2 separate regions of the Homo sapiens genome follow, and region 2 is linked to region 1. Evidence: promoter capture Hi-C in 16 types of primary human blood cells and fetal thymus (Javierre and others, 2016). All regions are on one chromosome and are shown on one strand. Each heading gives the region's core, a stretch centred on a gene start or on the middle of the fragment in contact. The rest is flanking DNA. Distances are from core to core; before and after follow the strand shown.

Evidence for each region. Contacts are between HindIII fragments. The CHiCAGO score rates a contact against its expected background, and 5 or more counts as called.
Region 2: a contact is called between the fragment with the promoter of KMT5A here and the fragment with the promoter of RSRC2 in region 1, in 1 of 17 cell types (erythroblasts). The highest score is 8.0, in erythroblasts.

What each region holds. Positions count from the first base shown.
Region 1 is chr12:122,523,494-122,530,320 of GRCh38, reverse strand. RSRC2 (arginine and serine rich coiled-coil 2) reads left to right here and starts at 3,385. Exons shown (of 10, transcript NM_023012.6): 1 at 3,385-3,473. The coding sequence starts at 3,468. It overlaps KNTC1 (kinetochore associated 1), which reads right to left and starts at 3,072. Exons shown (of 64, transcript NM_014708.6): 1 at 2,970-3,072; 2 at 129-330. The coding sequence starts at 257. RefSeq lists enhancers at 1,039-1,138, 3,246-3,705. The HindIII fragment of the contact is 2,543 bases long and covers 858-3,400 here.
Region 2 is chr12:123,380,734-123,387,560 of GRCh38, reverse strand. It overlaps KMT5A (lysine methyltransferase 5A), which reads right to left and starts at 3,429. Exons shown (of 8, transcript NM_020382.7): 1 at 3,353-3,429. The coding sequence starts at 3,362. RefSeq lists enhancers at 2,799-2,958, 3,799-4,018, 3,541-4,271 and silencers at 3,139-3,308, 4,236-4,458. The HindIII fragment of the contact is 10,259 bases long and covers 3,239-6,827 here.

The DNA.
Region 1 (6,827 bases), core at 2,136-4,635:
TGAGATTGAATCTTGATTCCCTGAGGAAGTGCTATGTTCATTCACAAAATATTTACTGTGGGCCACTAGCCCTACTAAGCACTCAGTAAAAATTCTGTGAATGAAACAGTCAGTGTAATAATCACTACCTTTTCAGAAGAGATCTTCACTAGCAAATCTACTTGATATAAAGCAGTTCCATGTTCTTTTCTTGAACCGACACTCAGGTACCCACTTCCGGTATCATCATTTGTTAGCAGCTCAATATCATTCCACATGTTTCTGAGACTGTCTTCCTGAGTCAGGAACCACTGTCTTTCCTGAACAACATAAAATTAGACACCATATTATCTTGTTGCATAGAACCTGGTTCCTTGGGAAATGATAAAGCTTACTCACAAAACAAAAACAAAAGTCTAACATTAACATATACAGACATCTTAGTCTTCTTGTTATTGCTGTGGCCACTAAACACTTCGGGCCAATAACATAAATGGAACTAGAGCTATGATGGTTACCAGAGAACAACATATTGGTTTATGCACACAAACCAACAATTCTGATCTTACCAATGTATCTTAGAGCTTCCATTACTTTGTGTGTCTAGTTTGGAATTATACCAAGTTTTCATTAGAAATAAACCTTTAATTATACCAAGTTTTCATTAGAAATAAACCTTTCATTAGAAATAAACCTTTAATAGCAGCAAACAGTGTAGGTTTAGATGCCAGATTGTCAGGGATATCATAGGATGATAAGATTCCAGATGAAGTTCAGAAAAAGTCCATTGATGCTATCATAGTATTATTATACAACAAATAAAAATGATAAGGGGAGGAGAAAAAAATGAATTAGGTTTCTGGATCAAAGACTAAGCTTGAAACCTTATGAGGTTTACCCATCTCAAAAAGCAAAGGTTTACATAAACCATATTACCTGGAGTCTGGGTGGGAAAAGAACACTAAGGATAAAAACAATCCTTGGATCAAGACTGGTAGGGAATGATAATCAAATAATTACAATTGGTTTCATAAGTGCTACTAGAAGTATGTTTCAATATCTATAAAAGGTATAGCACAAGGTAGAAACAATTTCTGACTTGGTGCTCTTTCACAATGACTAGGCAGCTGTCCTTGGGTGATCACTTAATCTTTCTGTTCCTCAATTCTCTAATTTATAAAATAGGAATATACAGACCAGGCCGGCGCGGTGGCTCACACCTGTAATCCCAGAACTTTGGGAGGCTTAGGCAGGTGGATTATCTGAGGTCAGGAGTTTGAGACCAGCCTGGCCAACATGACGAAACCCCCTCTCTACTAAAAACACAAAAAATTAGCCGGGCGTGGTGGTGTGCGCCTGTAATCCCAGCTACTCAGGAGGCTGAGGCTGTAGAATTGCTTGAACCCGGGAGGCGGAGGTTGCAGTAAGTCGAGATCGTGCCACTTGCACTCCAGCTTGGGCAACAAGAGTGAAACTCCGTCTTGGAAAAAAAATATATATATACAGTTTGCCGTCAATATCCATGTGTTCCACATCCCTAGATTGCACCTACAGGCATAGCACATTTACACTGTTACGCAAGATAAGAAATCAAGAGATGATTTAAAGTATACAGGCAGATGTTCCTAGGCTACATGCAAATACTATGCCATTTAATGACAGGGACTTAAGCATCCTAGGGTTTTGGTATCTGTGGGAGGTCCTGGAACCAATCTCCCATGGATACCAATACCAAGGGACTAATTTAGTTGTACCCACCTGAAGGAGTTTTCTATTTTTCACTTCTGGTTTTTTGAGAGACGAGGGTCTCACTATTTTGCCCTGGCTGGCCTTGATCTCCTGGGCTCAAGCAATCCTTCTGCTTCAGCCTCCAAATGTTTTGAGTTTTAAATGTTCACAGAACAATGCTTGGTTGATGGCAAACATTCAATTTTAGGTGTTAGCTAATTTGTTATTGGGCTGAGAATTGAAGATCATAGTTTTATAAATGTTTAAAGAGTTCTTCCTAAGAGCATAAGCAAGGGAACAGAAACAAAACATGTTTGGAGAATAGAGAAGTTTCAGTGGCTGGTGTTTGGGTGGGAGTGAGGAGATGAAGAAGGAGGGACAGGTTGGAATGAATACCTTTATGGGTCTCAATTTCCCACATCTGTGAAATAGAGAAACCGCCCGTAACTGCCATATTTACTTATTCAACAAATGTTTATTGAATACCTATTTACTATGTGCCAGACACCTTTCTAGGAACTGGGAATATAGCTTGAACAGAACACAAAATGTCTTTGCCATTATGAAGTTTATGTTTTTGCGGGAAAAACGGACAAAAATAAAATTGTTAATACGTATCTTGTTATGCTACCTCCACAAAAAAGCAACTGCACAAATAATTACAAAAAGTGCTAAATGATTTGAAGGAAACAGTGATTAAATGGATAAGGTGAGGCGTCGCTGAAGAAGGATTTGTTTGGGAAGGGAAGGAGGTGACATCTGAGCTGAGACCTGAATAACAAGAAGTACGCAAAACTTAGGCGGAACGCGACGTAGGCAGAGGGAACAGAGTGCAAAGACTCGGAGGCTGGGTAGGAAGCGTTTGATGCTGCTGCCGGGTCAAAGCAAAAGCAGAAGACAGTGAGGGAGAGAGCAGTGGAGTCCAATAAAACCTCGACCTCAAGATTGAATTTTATTCTCAGTACAAGGGGTAGAAGGGGAACTCAGCAAACGAGTGGTCTGATTTTATAATTTTGAGATCACTCTGGCGGCGGAATGCAGAACAGATTCGCGAATACGAGAGAATGAGCAAGATGAAACACTTGTCAGTTAGGCCTCCATACTTAAACGCTCTCCGCTGGACATCGCCGCCAGCAAAAACCGACTCCAACCTCTCTCCTGCCAGCGTCAAGGGGAAAACAACAGGAACTGAGCAGAGGCTGCAGCTACTTCGTCCTGAACCCACCCCCAGTTCCCTACACAGCGCAGCTCCCCGTCCTCACCTGCAATTGAAGAAACTAAAGAGGAACACTCAGATATCTGGCCCCTCTTCCTGACTCACACAACCGCCTCTAGTCTTTAGGTTCCATGCCACAGGCTTAAATTGGCGGGAGAACACTAAACCCAACCCCTTTACGGCGGCCGGAAGAGACCAAGATTACTTTAGACTCGAAATAGGAAGTTGCCCCACCCTGAGTTCCGCCCATTCCGTTCTCCCGACTGCGCATTCCGGGGGTGTATTCTTGGCCCCGCCCTCTTCACGGTCTTTACACTCCCCTATGAAAGAACACCCAATCACCGCCTCGAATTGCGTTGTTATAGAAACTTTTGTTACCGCCCCTTTTTCTCCCAGCAAGCTGTGCGACGCGCCGGGCCTCCTCGCCTTTGTGCCATCCGGGTCTCTCGCGCGAGCGATTTAGTCTGAGGCGAAGCTTCGGAGCGGCCGGTACTGTTGAAAGCGACAAGTGGAGGCGCCGCTCTAGCGGCCGGGACTCTGAACTATGGCGGTAGGTACCGAATCTGAGTTTAAAGCCAGGGATATTTTTCTGCTACGTTCCAACAGTGGGTGAACGGCTCCCAGAACCTTGTTCGTGTGTATGTGTGTAGACAAAATGGCGCCGCGGCCTTCTTCTGCGCCCGCCATCATGGCTGCCTGCTGTAGGGAGGGGGAAGTAAGGCGGTGTTGGTGGGGGTGGGGAGCCGCAGGGAGTGCCTTTTTTTTTCCAGAACTTTCCTCCTCTCTTCCCCAACCCTACGTTCCTTTCGCCTCACTGAACTTCCTCCATTTTCGCTTATTCACCCTGGCTAGTGATTTATTCTAAGTTTTTTTTAGGGCCTGAGAATTTGCGGTGGAGAAAGGGGCTGGGGAAGAGAAAGACGATCAGGAGTGGTCTCTGAAAAGTATTGGGTCAAAAAGGCAGTGTCTGTAAAGGGTAGTGTGGGAGAAGAGAGCGACTTGTAGCTATTTTTTTTTTTGTACGCTCAATGAGATGCTTCTAGTTGCATAATTTCAATTAGTGTTCGTCCGTGTAAACCTTATTATTGTGTATTAACGAGCTAGGAAGGTATTGCTGAAAGGGAGTGAAAATTCAACTTAAAAGGTTGTGGAACTACCAATTCTGACTGATGCGCGGTTTCCGAAGTGGCCCGTGATGTAATCAATTTGAAGTCCGAGAAGCGTTACAGTTAAGTCTTGTCACTGACCTTGTTCCTTTAAATTTAAACCCTTCGTTGGCCGGGCGCGGTGGCTCACGCCTGTAATCCCAGCACTTTGGGAGGCCGAGGCGGGCGGATCACGAGGTCAGGAGATCGAGACCATCCCGGCTAAAACGGTGAAACCCTGTCTCTACTAAAAATACAAAAAAATTAGCCGGGCGTAGTGGCGGACGCCTGTAGTCCCAGCTACTTGGGAGGCTGAGGCAGGAGAATGGCGTGAACCCGGGAGGCGGAGCTTGCAGTGAACCGAGATCCCGCCACTGCACTCCAGCCTGGGTGACAGAGCGAGACTCCGTCTCAAAAAAAAAAAAAAAAAAAAAAAAAAAAAAAAAAAAAACTCTTCGTTGACCCCAGAGGAGCTACAGTTCGTAAATTATCTATTCTGAACAATAAGCCTGCGTGTGTATAAGATACCCAATTCTGACGGATCCACATTATTTTGTGCTTACCTCATTTTTATTCCGTTAAAAGGAAAATGTAAAGATTTTGCATTCCTTTTTACTGACTAAAAAATTACATCATTTTCGATAATAATTATGACTCTTAAACATAGTGATAGTTTTAAAGTTTGCTCTTCCTAACGATTGGAATGCCTGGGATTAGGCAGATGATTTTCTTTTTCCCCCATACCCCTCTATTATTTAGGTGATTGAGTTTAAACCCGTTTCTTTTACTGTCTTCCTTTGTTTAGTGTTTTGGGCCTCAGTATACTTAAAGAGTAATACTATTTTTCTTGGGTTGCAGGTTTTTTTGTATTTTTTCGAGACGGAGTTTTGCTCTTGTCGCCCAGGCTGGAGTGCGATGGCGCGATCTTGGCTCACTGCAACCTCCGCCTCCCGGGTTCAAGCGATTCTCCTGCCTCAGACTCCCGAGTAGCTGGGATTACAGGCGCCCACCACCACACCCGGCTAATTTTTTTATATTTTTGGTAGAGACGGGGTTTCACCACGTCGGCCAGGCTGGTCTCGAACTCCTGACCTCAGATGATCCACCCGCCTCGGCCTCCCAAAGTGCTGGGATTACAGGAGTGAGCCACCGCGCCCGGCCGGGTTCTAGTATTTTAAAAAGTGAATTTAAACATTTATTTATGCCGTGCCTTGTTCAATAAAAAGACAGTCCCCTAGAGAAGTGACCTAGTATTCAATCCAGTGCTTACCTCCTTCGCAGTGGAAAAAGATTTGTCTATGTTTCGAGCCGTTATTAGAGTTTGCAACAAAATGTAAATTATAAGAAACCAAAGTGGCTACCTCGTAGAGCCACTGCTGGAATAGAAGGCTGTTTTGCAGTTAACGTTTATGTGTACACATAGATTAGTACTAAATTAAAGCTTAGAAAATTTCAGAGCAATTTTAATACTCAGTTTTTGGTAGGTTTTTTTCCTGGATACCTGTATTATGCTACTATAAAATATCCTCAGGGAAATAAAAGTTTTCCATGGCCTCAATGACCACCTATCATTCCTATTTGTTTAGTGTTAAGATGGTTTTTGTTGTTGCTCTGTAGTATATTTTACAGATGAAAATGGTTGATGATGTAAGTTTAAGTTAGCCTATGTCACAGGGAGGTTTCTCTGTTGTCCAGCTTTGTGATGTTAAGCATGAAGTTAAAGTTAGATAAACCATTGCCTGAAAACTGCCTAGGCTAAGCACTAGATTTTCCATGAGAAGGTTGTTTTCGATTCTAGTCTTGTTCTCTGCAAAAGTAAATGGGATTTGCCACTAGTTAAGGAATTCTGTCTCTGGCAAAAGTGTCGTGCAACTGAGAGAAGTAATAGCGGTGCTTAAAATTTTCGAGATCACTTCTGTTTACCAAGTGTAAGCTGTACAAACACTCAGCAAGTAATAAATGAGTCTGAAATAGTCCTCAAGGATAACGATGAAAAAAAAAAGTGTCCAGAATTCATTGTGAAAAATCAGAATCATCCTTAATGATACAGCATTATTTATTAGTAGTAAACAGTAAAGATACGGAGATGCAGTATCATTTTAAGCAAGTCAGCTAATGTTGCTGGATCTCATCTGTGAAACGAGAAAGTTGAACTCTATTCTAAGGGGTGAAAACCTTTCAGCATAAAAATTTTATGGTTCCAGAAGTCACCCAGACTGGAGAAATAAGTACATATACAATATGCTGGCATGAGAGCCTCCCTGGTAGTTAATTTCTTACTGTTCTTTTTGTGCCATTGTTAGAGGAATAACACGTAATTTATGTCTTTCATCTCATAATTGAACTGCAAAACCTTTCTGTTTTTAATTTATCATTTTATTCCCTAAGTCTAGCATTGGTTTTGGCACATTTTTGACCCTTAGTAAATACTTGTTGAAGTAACTCGACCTCTCACAACTTCATTTATTAAAGTACAATACACCCATTTATTGTACTTGATACTTGTTTAAAATTTGTTAAAATACAATACCCCCATTTATTGTACTTGATATTTGGTATTCATTTTCTGGACTAACTTTCCTAAAGGAGGAAGTTCTCTAATGTGATTCCTCCTGCTGAAGACTATCGATTCCCTATTTATTCAATCCAGATTCCGTTTGATGTTATACGTGAAAAGTCCATAAACTGTTTCTGTAAAGGGCCAGACGGTAAATATTTTTGGCTTTGTGGGCCATGTGCAGTCTCTGTCACATTCTTTC
Region 2 (6,827 bases), core at 2,180-4,679, 860 kb before region 1:
TACAGTTGAATATCCAAAAGATTACCCAGAGGGTGAAAGAGGATTCGAAAGTGACACTCTGATAACCAGGTTGAGCCATTTGAAAGCGTCTTCTATTTCTGCAAGGCAGAGAAGTTTTGCAGCTTAACTGCCATGAGAATCATGGTTTTGGAGCAGGAAGCACCCACATAGATCATCTTATCCATTTCACATTCTAGTATACCGAGCCACACCCCACGCCCCACTCATGGTCATAGCTTTCTCTGCATTTGAGCCCCCAATTGCAGGGGACACATTACAAGTCTAGCACCTATTCCTCTCAATTCTGCAGCTCCAGTACCTAGAAGATGTAAATACAGATCATTCAATGTAAGTTTCAAAACAGTCCTTTCTCCGCAAGTTTATACGTATATAACAAATACACCAGCTGGGCGCAGTGGCTCACACCTGTAATCCCAGCACCTTGGGAGGCAGAGGAGGGCAAATCACCTGAAATCAGGAGTTTGAGACCAGCCTGGCCAACATGGCGAAACCCCGTCTCTACTAAAAATACAAAAATTAGCTTGGCGTGGTTGCGCATGCCTGTAATCCCAGCTACTTGGGAGGCTGAGGCAGGAGAGTCACTTGAACCCAGGGGGGTGGAGTTTGCAGTGAGCCAAGATTGTGCCACTGCACTCTATCCTGGGTGACAGAGTGAGACTCTGTCTCCCAAAAAAAAAGAAAAGTCTGTATTTTTGGAGACCCCCCCACCAGGTGCTAAGGGATAATGAACTGAAGATGGCAAAATGAGGAGGGCAACCAACCAAGAGACCATTCAACAATGGCAGTAGAAATAGTGAAAGGTAGGTGGACTGACCCCTGAGACTAATATATTGGGGTTGTAAATATTTGCATGATTATAAAACTTCAAAATGAGTGAGGTGTTGCCTGGCATCTGACCAGTTTGTTTCTGTGACCCAGCAGGGCTCTCAAAGTGAATTGCAAGTTCAAAGCCCAATTTTCTAGAAGAAAAAGACTGTTCATTTGAAGTGCTGTAAATGATTTGGTATTTACAATTCTAAATATTGGCCAGGCGTGGTGGCTTTTGCCTGTAATCCCAGCACTCTGGGAGGCCGAGGTGGGCAGATAACCTGAGGTCAGGAGTTCAAGACTAGCCTGGCCAACATGGCGAAACCCCGTCTCTACTAAAAATACAAAAATTAGCTGGGTGTGGTGACAGGTGCCTGTAATCCCAGCTACTTGGGAAGCTGAGGCACAAGAATCACTTGAACACAGGAGAGGGAGGGTGAAGCGGGCTGAAATCACTCCACTGTACTCCAGCCTGGGTGACAGAGAGAGACTCTGTCTCAAAAAAAAAAAAAAAAAAAAAAATCTAAATCTAAATATCCAATTTAATAGCTTGCAAGGGCAGTAAAGCCTAAGAAACAGGTAACTACTAATTTGGGGGTCAAGTGAGACAGTGAGAATCAATAACTAATAATTACATAGGTGATTTGTAAGCTGCCATGGGAGGAGCTGACAAACATTATCTTCGCTTTGGGTAAGTAAGGGAGGTTGGGTGGCACAAGCAAAGACCCAGCCAAGCTAGAGTCTGGACAGCAAGTTTGGACTTCACGCTTCCTCTTCCAAAAAATGAGAATAACAATTTGTAAAGATCAATTGAGTTAATAAAGTGCCTGGCCCTCAGTGGTAATTATTATTATTTTGTTATTGTTCTTGTTTGTTTTTTTGAGATGGAGTCTTGCTCTGTTGCCCATGCTGGAGTGCGGTGACGTAATCTCGGCTCACTGCAAGCTCCACCTCCCAGGTTCAGGCAATTCTCCCTGCCTCAGCCTCCCAAGTAGCTGGGATTACAGGCATGCGCTGCCATGCCCGGCTAATTTTGTATTTTTAGTAGAGACGGGATTTCTCCATGTTGGTCAGACTGGTCTCGAACTCCCGACCTCAGGTGATCTGCCCGCCTTGGCCTCCCAAAGTGCTAGGATTACAGGTGTGAGCCACCATGCCTGGCCATAATTATTATTTAGTCATATTTTAAGTATTTCAATGATAGATGGTTAGTTTTCTTCATATATTAATTAATGCACTACTTTTAAAACAAGTAGTTTAAATGATTTTGCTGTGATGAGAAAAATGAACCCAGGAAGCATAGTTTTATTAAAATTTGTCAGATAAATTAGTCAGATAATGTTAAATATACTTTTAGATGCTTAACACTTTTCAAAGGAAAAATATTAGTATTAATTTTCTCCAAGAGTTGAGTGATGAAGCTCTTTAACCTGAAGTTTACTATGCCTCATTTTTTCATCAGGCTCTGGGTAAGTCTTATCCCAAAAGAACCTCTAGGGATGCTAGGAGAATAGATGATGCAACTGACTTCAGGGCCTGAAAACAAAGGGACCCAATAGATATTTACTGAATGAATCATTATTTTATTCATTATTATTGCTATAGGGAGCATACTGCACTAAAGCAAATTCCTACTAACACTTGAAGCCTTGAAATTTTGAGAAAAATATAATACCAAAACTTTTTTTTTTTTTTAATACTAATTCTACTCAACTTTCACGCTCAAGTTTTTGGCCCTTTGGCGTGAAGGAGACGCAGTGGCTGGAAATGACCAAGCGGTTGGAGATCTCTTTGCCGCATACCTGGGAGGCACTGTCCTGACAGCCAACTAAGTATGCAGAGGACTTCAGACAGGGCATCGCCTCCCAGGGCTGTACAAGCCCACCCAAGCCATCTACCGGGGGGCGAAGTCCTGACCAGATGCGGGGCGAACGACCGCGCCCGCGAGATGCCAGGAACCCGTTTTACCCCAAAGTGGGCCAGCGGGGCCCGGCCTTCGCTCCAGCGGCGCAGAGCTGACTCAGGACGTGGGGAGGGAGGAAAGGCGCCTGCTGCGGTGTCCACCCTGACGCGCACCCCAATATGCAGGTTATCGATCTGCGCCTTCGCCTCGGGATCACCTCCTTTCCCAAAGAGAGAGGGCCCCAAAGTGGGCGAAGCCTCACTCCTGCCCCCGCCCCACTTCTATCAATAACACCTATTCCCTGGAGGTGCCCTGCGCTTTAGTTTCCAAAGAGCTCTGACATATGGATCTGCTGCCGTGGAGAGGCAGGCCCGCAGGTGTTCACTTCATAGAAGGGAAACAGAAGCACGGCAGTGGGAAGGGTTTCTGGGGGCATCTGGAGCCGCAAGGGGGGGCCGGCGGGTTCCGCAGCAGCACCCCCTCTCCCCCCACGCGGGTCCCCAAGCTTGCCCCGAGCCACCCGAGGAGGACGCCTCCCCGCAGCCGCTGCCTCCACCCCGGCAACCCCTCCAGCACGACCCCCGACCCAGCCGCTCCGGTGCCGGCCACTTGGGCAAATACCTCTAGCCATGGCTCCACTCTGTCACCGCCTGGGATCTCCCGGGAAACCCAGCTTTCGAAAAAAGTTGCAACAACTCAGCCAACTGCTCCGCCGGGCTCCAGCTGCTCGCCCCGATTGGCGCCGCCTCCCGCCTCTCCGCAGGCTGCCCGTAGTGATAGGCCAACTCGGAGAAAGGCCCCGCCCTTCTCCCGCCTCTTCGGCGGCGGGGCGTGTCCAGCCGCCGCAATAACTGCAAACGCTTTCCCGACAGGTCCCGGCGGAGGAGGTGGGAGGGGTGTTTAAATTTGACCGTCGCCAGACGTTGAATGGCTGCGATGGAAGACACCCGAGCTGCCATTGGGAGGCCCCAGATTCCTCCCCCTCCCGCTGCTGAAGCTCCGCCTCCGGAGCGTGAGTAGCCCGGCTGGAGCCCTGGGCTCCGAGCCGACCGGATCTGGGACTTCCGGTTCTCTGTGGGCTTGACCGGAACCCGACCTTTGACCCCTCGATCTTCCCTTAAGAGCTGGGAAACCTGAGTCTCCCAGCAGTTTAGCAACTCCAGCACACCGACCTCTCCAGCAGTTTGATCCATTCATTCTCAGGTTTGAAAGGTTTTGGCCGGGCGCGGTGGCTCATGCCTGTAATCCCAGCACTTTGGGAGGCTGAGGCGGGCGGATCACCTGAGGTCCGTGGTTCGAGACCAGCCTGACCAATATAGAGAAACCCAGTCTCTACTAAAAATACAAAATTAGCCGGGCGTGGTATCGCATGCATGTAATCCCAGCTACTCGGGAGGCTGAGGCCGGAGAATAGCATGTAATCCCAGCTACTCGGGAGGCAGAGGTTACGGTGAGCCGAGATCGCGCCATTGCACTCCAGCCTGGGCAACAAGAGCGAAACACTGTCTCAAAAAAAAAAAAAAAAAAAAAGGTTTATTGAATATTCCAGTATTCAAAACCCGGCCGGGCGCGGTGGCTCACGCCTGTAATCTCAGCACTTTGGGAGGCCGAGGCGGGTGGATTACGAGGTCAGGAGATCGAGACCATCCTGGCTAACACGGTGAAACCCCGTCTCTACTAAAAATACAAAAAAAATGAGCCGGGCGTGGTGGCGGGCGCCTGTAGTCCCAGCTACCTGGGAGGCCGAGGCAGGACAATGGCGTGAACCCGGGAGACAGAGCTTGCAGTGAGCCGAGATCACGCCGCTGCACTCCAGCCTGGGCGACAGAACGAGACTCCGTCTCAAAAAAAGAAAAAAAAAAAAACCCACAGACACAACTCCTACCAACTAACTGGGTCAGTAGGGAAGGTCCTTCCAGGACCGCAAAGATCCTAATGCTTCACACCCACCCATTTTACAGATGGGGCAATAGAGGAAGCGGGTCACTTACGCGCTGCCCAAGGTCACCCAGCAATGTAATTGCAGGGCCTGGGTCAGTCTCTCCACTGTTCAAACACTAAATGGCTACCTTATCCCGAGGGAAGCAAGTATTCGCTGTTCCCCTCTGAGAGAGGGGGCTCAGTCAGTATGTTCCCAGAGAATCAGGTGTCCTGGAGTGTCTGCTTTGGACTCAGGGAAGGCGTCCAGTTACTACTGCTCTTCCCTGGGGCCCCTCCCAGGGGTGTGGGACGAGGTCACTAATCCATCCTGTCTCTTTGGTAATTGAAAAGGTTTTGGAGACCCAACCATTGCCCAAAGACTCTTCCAAAGCACCAGGAAAATAGGAAAGGAAAATAAAATGATATATGTGAAAGCACTGGGAAAGGTAGAAAAGGACACTTTTGTCACAAAGTCACTGTGTCACTTGGCACATCAGTTCAGCTCTCTGGCCTTCCATTTCCCTACCTGTCAAATGAAGGAGCTGGTGCCGTAATCTCCAACATGCCTTACAGCTTCCATAAATATGTGGAAGTGTGGCAGTGTGCAGTGGCTCTCACCTGTAATCCCAGCACTCTGGGAGGCCGAGGCAGGTGGATCACGAGGTCAGGAATTCAAGACCAGCCTGACCAACATGGTGAAAACCCCGTTTCTACTAAAAATACAAAAATTAGCCAGGCGTGGTGGTGCGTGCCTGTAATCTCACTACTCAGGAGGCTGAGGCGGAGAAGTGCTTGAACCCGGGAGGCAGAGGTTGCAGTGAGCCAAGATCGTCCCACTGCAATCCAGCCTGGGCACCAGAGCGAGACTCTGTCTCAAAACAAACAAACAAACAAACAAAAAATATATATAGAGAGAGAGGTGTTTGCTTTCTCCAAAATTGATTATTTCAACATTTATTGAGCTCTATGCCTGCCGCTGTTTTGGATCCCCCAAGGATCCGAAGGGAAAGTAGACACAGCTCCTTCCCTGCATTCTTTTAGGGAAGAAACAAGGCATTATTTAAAAGATAATTTTAAGGCTGGGTGTGGTGACTCACACCTGTAATCCCAGCACTTTGGGAGGCTGAGGTGGGCGGATCACCAGGTCAGAAGATCGAGACCATCCTGGCTAACACGGTGAAACCCCATCTCTACTAAAAATACAAAAAAAAAAAAATTAGCCGGGCGTGGTGGCAGGCACCTGGAGTCCCAGCTACTCGGGAGGCTGAGGCAGAGCTTGCAGTGAGCCGAGATCACGCCACTGCACTCCAGCCTAGGCGACAAAGAGAGACTCCATCTCAAAAAAAAAAAAAGAGAAAAAAGAAAAAAAAGATCATTTTGTTTATTTATTTTTATTTTTCTTGAGACGGAGTCTCTCTCTGTCTCCCTAGGCTGGAGTGCAGTGGTTTGATCTCGGCTCACTGCAACATCTGCCTCCTGGGCTCAAGCAATTCTCCTGCCTCAGCATTCTGAGTAGCTGGAATTATAGGCGCCCACTACCATGGCTGGCTAATTTTTGTATTTTTAGTAGAGATGGGGTTTCACCATGTTGGCCAGGCTGGATTCGAACTCCTAACCTCAATTGATATGACGGCCTCAGCCTCCCAAAGTGCTGGGATTACAGGCGTGACCCACTGCGCTCAGCCCAATTTTTGTATTTTTAATAGAGATAGTGTTTCTCCATGTTGGCCAGTCTGGTCTCAAACTCCTGGCATCATGTGATCCAGCTGCCTCAGCCTTCCAAAGTGCTAGGATTACAGGCATGAGCCCACCACCCCTAGCCTAAAAGATTATTTTTATTTTATTTATTTTTTAAGACAGGGTCGCATTCTGTCATCCAGGCTAGAGTGCAGGGGCACGTTCTCGACTCACTGCAACCTCCACCTCCTGGGCTCAAGCAATTCTCCTGCCTCAGCCTCCCAAGTAGTTGGGATTACAAGAGTGTGCCATCATGCCCACCTATTTTTTTTTTTTTGAGACGGAGTCTCGCTCTGTCACCCAGGCTGGAGTGCAATGGCGTGATCTCGGCTCACTGCAACCTCTGCCTCCTAGGTTCAAGCAATTCTCCTGCCTCAGCCTCCCGAGTAGCTGGGATTATAGGCATGCGCCAAAACACCCAGCTATTTCTTTTTTGTAT